2 separate regions of the Homo sapiens genome follow, and region 2 is linked to region 1. Evidence: promoter capture Hi-C in human tissues and cell types (Jung and others, 2019). All regions are on one chromosome and are shown on one strand. The core of a region is centred on a gene start or on the middle of the fragment in contact, and the rest is flanking DNA. Distances in the headings are between cores, read along the strand shown. Region 1 holds the start of SCUBE1 (signal peptide, CUB domain and EGF like domain containing 1). Region 2 overlaps TTLL12 (tubulin tyrosine ligase like 12).

The links. Contacts are between HindIII fragments. The study calls those that stand out against the background at their distance.
Region 2: a contact is called between a fragment that was not itself captured here and the fragment with the promoter of SCUBE1 in region 1, in 1 of the 25 tissues and cell types used here (mesendoderm cells).

What each region holds. Positions count from the first base shown.
Region 1 is chr22:43,341,316-43,344,972 of GRCh38, forward strand. It overlaps SCUBE1 (signal peptide, CUB domain and EGF like domain containing 1), which reads right to left and starts at 2,057. Exons shown (of 22, transcript NM_173050.5): 1 at 1,859-2,057. The coding sequence starts at 1,946. The HindIII fragment of the contact is 4,801 bases long and covers 83-3,657 here.
Region 2 is chr22:43,168,011-43,171,667 of GRCh38, forward strand. It overlaps TTLL12 (tubulin tyrosine ligase like 12), which reads right to left. Exons shown (of 14, transcript NM_015140.4): 12 at 1,490-1,558; 13 at 764-902; 14 at 1-149. Among named protein-coding and RNA genes, the nearest start is that of TTLL12, 17 kb to the right of the region's middle. RefSeq lists enhancers at 198-1,054, 1,055-1,910. The HindIII fragment of the contact is 9,757 bases long and covers 1-3,657 here.

The DNA.
Region 1 (3,657 bases), core at 807-3,306:
GACACTGTGCAGGACTGGCACTGCCTCTAAGGCAGGGACCCAGAGGCCAGAGAGGGCCCATCTCCAGGCTTCTGTTTGGGAGGACTGGGGTCACTTATGAGACAGGACCAGCAGGGGCAGTGGGCCACAGATATGGCTCTTCCCACTTCCCAGGGGCCAGTATGTAGGAATGAGGGGTGGGAGCCCCTTGTGCCCTCACCCCTAATCTCCCACCTAGGCAGGTGTCTTCACTGGAATGGAAATGGATGGATGTTGATGAGGGGTGGGTGGAGCTATCTCCCAACACACCTTTAAACACTTGGGTGTCCTTGGTGTGGAGTGTGGGGAGAGGACATGGGAGTTTGAGGAGAGAGAGGGAGAAGCCACTTGTCCCCATCGGTTCTCTGCCATGCTCCCGCTCCTGTCTGGGCTGGAGACTCCCCTGCAGGGCGACCCAGCCCTCCTAGCACAGGCTGCTCCCTTTGACTCTGGTTTGCTTATGCTGGGGACATGCTGCTGGGGTTTCACAGTCACAGGGCTTCCACGGAGAGGGTCGTGGAGGAGACAGAGTCAGATACAGAGAGACACGAGGAGGGACACAGGTGGGGATAGGCACGCCCAGGAACAGTCACTCAGAGGTGAGGGACCCCAAAGCTTGGGAGAGACACCCACAGACACAAGGGGGATGATGGGGCAGCAGGGCTGGGCTTCCAGGAGGGGTGTTGCTGTGGAAGAGTCTCACAGGCCCAGCATCCTCACTCGGGGCACGCGGGACCACCAGGAATAGACCCTACGCCACCCATACCAGACCTCAGGAAGCCGGGAAGGACGTGCAGGACCCTCCCCCTGCCTCCCCCTCCAAGCAGAGCACCGGAGGAAGCGCCTCTGATGACGAGGAGGGGAGAATGTGACTCCAGCTTTTCGGGAAGCCCCTGAAGACAGAGAGCAGGAGGGGACCGGGTGGGAGGGTGGGGGGGTCCCCGTGAAACCCACGGGCCTGGGCCTGTGGCCTCCGGGTCTCCCCCTCCCCTTCCTGGGTCTGCTCCACCGACGTCCCGCGTCCGGACTCTCCTCCCTGTGTCTGTCCTCCGGATCCTCTGCCTTCCTTCCCTCTGTCTTTCCTCCCCGTCCTGTCAGACGGTCCCGGTCCCTCGTCTGCGGCTTTCCAGGTATCTCTGTCCCTCTCTCTTTCCCGGTCTCCCTCTCACCGCCCCCCCCAACCCCGTTTTTCTGCGGCGTCCATCTGTCCCCCGTCTCCTCCTCTCTCTCTCCCTTATCATCGGTGGGACCATCCCTCTTGATTCCCCCTGATCCACCGGCCTCCTCCTCCTTCCCCGGGCGGTGCGGGCCTCCTCTCTACCCTTCCGCATCTGTCTTTTCTCCGGGCTTCCTTTTGTCTGCTCCCTCGGCGCCGGCTCTTCTGTCCGTCTGTCCCGCACCTCCCGCCCCGTCCCGGTCTCTCGGTCCGTCCCTTTCCCCGTCCACCTCCTGGCGTGTCCCCCTCCGCCCGCCCCGCCCCGCGCCCCCTCTCCCAGGAGGAGCGCCCCTCTGCGCTCGGGGTCCCGCCCCGCCCAGGTCCGCACGCGGGGTCCCCGGGAACCGCCGCCTTTCTTCCTCGCTCCCGCGCTCGCGCTTCCCCTCCCGGGGCCCCGGCCCACCCACCCCTGGTGCGGCCCCGCCGGACTCAGGAGCCCCGGCCGCCCGGGCTGCGGGGAGGGGGCGCCCCGGGCCGGCCCTAGAAGTTACTTTGCAAAGAGGCAGGGGGCGCGGGGCCGCGCGGGGCGAGCTCGGGATCCGCGGGGAAGAAGCCCTCCGGGACCGCGCCTCGGCCGCCCGAGCCCCCCGCGCCCGCCGCCCCCCACCTCGGTCGGGGGCTTACCTGGGAGCCCGCTGCCCCCGGCCAGCCGCCCGCGTGTGCCCAGGGCCAGCAGCACGCACAAGTGCCAGCGCACGGCCGCCGCGCCCATGCTCAATGCGGGCCCCGCTGGGCGTGCGGGCGTGCGGGGCGCGGGGACCCGACCGACCGGCCGCTCCCGCAGGCGCTGCTCGCTGCTCGCCGCTCCGCCACCGCTCGGGCTCCCGAGCCGCCCAGCCAGCCCGGCTGATGAGCTGACAGCGCGCGCTCATTGGCCCGTGGCGTCGGAGGGGCGGGGCGTCGCCCAGGGCCGGCCAATGGGCGCCGGCCTCCGGCCCTCCGAGGAAGAGGGGGGCTCGGGCGTCGTCGGGGGGACCCTTCCCCTGGGGCGGGCGGCAGGTGGGGGGTGTGGGCCTGGCCGGCCGGCTCGCTAGGCGCGGGGTCTAGGCCAGGCTGGGGCTGCTTGGAGGCTGCGCCCTCCCCTGCCCGCGGCGCCCCGGCCCCCGCCGTCGAGAGTGGACGCCCCTCTGGGGTAACCCCTCCCGGCCCAGAGGCAGCCTCGGGGGCGGGGATCCTGCGAACCGGGGATCCCGTGAGGTCGCCCGCCATCCGTGGGCAGTGAAACGCGCCAGCGCGCAGAGCAGACTCGCCTGCGCTGCCGTTTGCTGGACGTTTCTTGAGCACCTACTGGGGACCGAGTGCGGGCGAGGCAGCAGCGAAGGAACCGGGAGGGGAAACCTCGTGAAGATCACTTGAAAATTGACGTTCAAAACAAACGAACTTTTTAGCACTCGTCAAAGGACAGTGGCCCGTCAGTGTGCTTGTCACGGGGCGGCCGCAGGACCTGCGTCTGGAACCGGGCGGGCGCCCGGGACGGACAATGCCGCTTGGCGGTCGGTCCCGCGGGAGGCCCCCGCACGGGGCTAACCTCGGCCGGCGAAGTTCGCTGCCCGGAATGCGAGGCCGAGGCCTCCCCCTGTGACAGACCGGGCGGGGCCAGGAGGAGGGGCAGGGCGGGCATCCCGGTCCGAAGACCCAGGAACTGCTCTGGCCTGGCCTGGGGTCTACACCTGACGCCTGGCGAGGGTTGGCTTCGGGTCTGGTCCCACCGGGCCTGGGAGGGACGGGCGGCTGGAAATAAATGGCCCCTCTCAGTTCCAGGCAGGACGCTTTAAGGGACGAAAGTTCAGCAAACCCCAAGGCCCATCTCCTTGACAACCACCAATAAGAGCTCCTTTTTTCTTCTCCTGCTCTCCAGGCCCAACTCAAAGACAACTCTTTTCTCTTTTTGTCCACTCTGCCTGCACCAGTTTGAGCCCCTCCACACCAGCTCCCTTTCCTGCCCCCAACACACACACGCACACACACACACACACACACACACACACACACACACACAGTCACACATGCAGACACATGCTCTCACGTGCAATCACTCAGACACAGCCTCACACCCTCACACCCTCCAGCACACACACGCTCACACATGCTTCTTCACGCCCTCATCCAACCTACCGTAGACGAGCTCCTCAGCCCTGGAAGGTTAAATCTGTGTCCAGCCAGCTCTCACACCCCATCTGACTTCACATCAGCTTGTGGCACGGGCCTGGTGGCTGAGGCAAGGGGTCCCCTACATGGGGATCGGGGGTGTGGGGGGTCCAGAGATGCCCAAAGAAGAAGGAAGCGCTGCCTGTTGTCTCCACTGAGCCCCCACCCCATTGCTCCAGACATTTCGGTCTGCACGGCTGCTCCTGGCTGCTGGTTTAATTTGGGAGATGCTGTTGACAGGCTTTATTTTGTCCCCGTCAATTGTGTAGCTTTGA
Region 2 (3,657 bases), core at 587-3,086, 170 kb before region 1:
GACAAGGCAGGTAACGTGGCAGCCACCGGGCTGGTCCAGAAACAAGGTGCTGAAGACGTCGTTGAAGAAGGTGGGGTGGTACCTGCAGGCTCGCTCACAGTCGGGGTTGAAGTTCACCTCCAGGATCTGCGGCTGCATCACCCGCCTTCCTGATGGCAAAGAGCGCAGCAGAGTGTGAAGGCTCGTTGGCCTCCACTCTGCAGGGACAGTGGCCTGGGGATCCAGCAAAGGCTGGGAGGCCATGAACCTGGGCCCTGATTCCCAGGGGATGAGCAGGACAAGGCCGGGCCTAGAACTTGGGTCTCTTGACTTTGCTGGGGAGGCCTGGCCTGACATCTGCTTCTCTAGGAGAGGCCAGGGCTGCCTCCAGCCCTAGGGATGACAGCCTGGCCCTTTAAGCTTGGATGTTCAGTTTAGTAAAAAAAAAAAAAAGTAGATATGCAGCAGCAGTGTACTGTGTGGGGGTCTGGCACAGGGAAGGCCAGCCAGGGTGGTGTGGGTTGGGGTCAGGGTGCCTTTCACACGGGTCTCCTGTCCTGTGAGCTCTCCCCCGACTCAGAGGCCCAACCCGCAGCCTTTCCCCTCCAGACTCTGCACCGCAGGCACTTCCTGTGGGCCAAGCCAGGGCTTTCCCCAACCCAGATTCCTGGCTGATTCAAGCCAGAGGACAGCCTGGGGCAGCTGCCTGCCTTCTCCAGGCTGTGGCTGGCTGGCGGAGGGGGCGCCTGCTGGTTTGGATCAGGAGATGGGGAGCCCCTCTTACCATCTGGGCCGTTGTCCCACTTCAGCATGAGGTCGACGGCATACATGGCCCGGGATGAGGGGTAGTCGCAGAGGCCCAGGGGTGGTGGCTTGGCACAGGCCACCTGGAACAGCTCCGTGAAGGCCCGGAAGATCTCAGCCTGGGGACCGGGGAGCCTGAGTTACGAGGCCTGCTCAGAACAGCCTCTCAAGAGGGGGTCTGCTGCCCCTGCCCAAGTCCCGGGCCCCACGTGGCCCAAGTCACCCCCTCCCACATCTTCACGTCTCTAGACCTCACCATGGCCACCTCCGCCCAGCACCTGCCCTCTTACTCCTGACGCCCACCTTCTGCAAATCTGCCCATCTCCTGCCGCAGACCCCGTTGCTCCCCACTGCCCCAAGGAGCTCAACACAGCACCCAGAATGCCGCTGCTGGACATGGAGGCCCAGCCAACGTCTCCATATGACTGGGAATCTAGGGTCAGGCAGTGCCGCCACCCTCTGGCTGTCCCAGGGGTGCCCCACATGCCCCTCCAGCTCCCTCCCTCTCAGGAGCACCCACAAATGCCCAGGGTGGAAGGGAGGGGAGCCCACGCTGTCTTGCCAGCCTCTGGGGAGAATGACCAACTGCAGGGGACAAAGGTCCCTCCCAGCCCATGCCAGCAGAGAGGGAAGGGAGCAGCTCCTGCAGGCCCCCAGCCCGGGACCCGCCCCACCGGCCTGCGATGGTGTGCAGGACAGGAATTACCTGGACGTCCGTCCAGGGAAATTCTGGGTATTGCTTCTCAAACTCGGGGATGAACTCTTCACAGTGCACCTGCAACAGACACAGGGCCCATCACGCTCTGTACAGGCCTCCGCTGGGCCGGGAGCAGGCAGCCTGCTACTGCCTGGACCAGGAGCTTCTGACACTGGGTGGGGGTTCCAGGAGCAGGCAGCCAACCCCGAACCCTCAGGGTCCAAACAGGAGGCAGGAGATGGAGTCTGGGCTCCAGGTCTTACTGTGTGACTCTGGACCAACGGATTAACTTCTCTGAGCCTGTTTCCTCCTCTGTGAAATGGGAAAATGTGCTCTGCCCAGTAAACTGACTTTGCCACGCAGCTGTGAGGCTCACGCGAGACAATGAACATCGAGGGCTCCAGAAACTGCAGGGCCTGGGCTGGCACCATCCTCACACTCAGCTCAGTACAGTGCGAAGGAGGCAGAGCTCAAGACTCCGCCGCGGGACCTGCCTGTGCCCTGGTTCAGCACCAGCTCAAGAGTGCTTGAGGGATGCAAGATCTTTCTGGCCTCAAGACTTTACCCAAAACACACCCGAGGAAGGTGGCAGTCGGCTCAGGTTTCTCCCAGAAAAGAACAAGCCAGGAAAGGCCCCTATGGAAGCCCGCCATCCATGCCATGCTGGACGTACCTCCCCAGGCACAGAGCTCCAGGAGAGGACTCCCGGGATGACCCCCACAGTACAGAAGGGAGGGGCTCAGAACCTGAGGGCGACTTCCAACAATGTCCTGGGGCCCTGCTGGGGGGTCTGGGTCCTAGGGAGTAGGCTTCAACACAGGCAAGGATAAGACAGACAGAAGCAACAGGACCACTCGGCCCCTGTGGGGAGTGTGTGCTGGTATAGTCACCAGTGCATGGCAGGGCCCTTTCTCCAAGTCCTCCTAGAGGACTCCTCGGACATGGGCATGGCCAGGTGCCTCCACGCATGTTCACGCGCCATGATTTATCATTAGTGAAGACCTCAGATGACCAATCGCCGCCACAGTTAGCAACAAGCCCGAACCTCAAAACCTCAAAACACGCCACTCAGCCAACAAAGCAAGCTGCAGAAGGATCCGTTGAATAAGATGATATTTACATAAAAACCTAAGTAGGAGGCCGGGCATGGTGGCTCACGCCTGTAATCCCAGCACTTTAGGAGGCTGAGGCAGGCGGAGCGCTTGAGTCCAGGAGTTTCAGACAAGCCTGGGCAACATGGCGAAACCCCGTCTCTACTAAAAATACAAAAAAATTAGCCGGGCGTGGAGGCACGTGCCCGTAGTCCCAGCTACTTTAGGGGGCTGAGGCAGAAGGATGGCTTGGGCCCAGGAGATTGAGGTTGCAGTGAGCCCAGATCATGCCTCCGCACTCCAGCCTGGGTGACAGCGTGAGACATTGTCTCTCAAAAAAACAAAACAAAACAAAAAACCTAAGTAAGCAAAACAGCAGCTTGAATGGTCAGGAACATACTCCTGCTGAAAAGAACCAAAGACATGCCTGGGAATGACAGCCACACGTTCAGGGGTCGGGGAGCGTTGGGGCTGGCTGCATGGGGAGTCCGCGGCACCTGCAAGGCTGGCGACAGGCAGGGTGGGGTAGGTGTTCTGTGCATCTGAAACACTCATTAACCAGCCAGGCCACAGAGGCCTTCCAGGACTTCCTTTCTTCCTTCCTGTACCCAGAGCTGGCCTCCTGCTTCTGTGCAGGCTGTGCCTACCTGTCCACGTACACTGGCTGGCCAGCTCTGGTTTCTCGCCCCCACCTTGGAAGGGCCTTTGTCCAGATGCCCCTGAGCTCCAGGTGCTCAGATGGTGCAGCTGCCATTCACTGAGTGCCCACTGCATGGGGCACCGCTCAACACTGTGCACCAGGGAGGACAGGAGGTCCTAGACCCGGGCAGGGTCACGGGCCAGCAGCCAGCCGGACCAGGTGGGGCCTCCCCGCCCCCGCCTGCCCTGGCACTCACAGGGTGGTCTGCTTTTCCGGTTGAAGTGGTGGTGAGGAGTAAGCCCCGGCTGGGAACACACTGTCTCAACCTGCTGCTGGACCCATCCCCCTCTGTGTCCACATTATCTCAAACACAGCCAGTGGCCCTCTGTGCCGTGGGGAGACCTACCTGAGACAACACAGAACCCAGCCTGGCTCATGATGGCAGC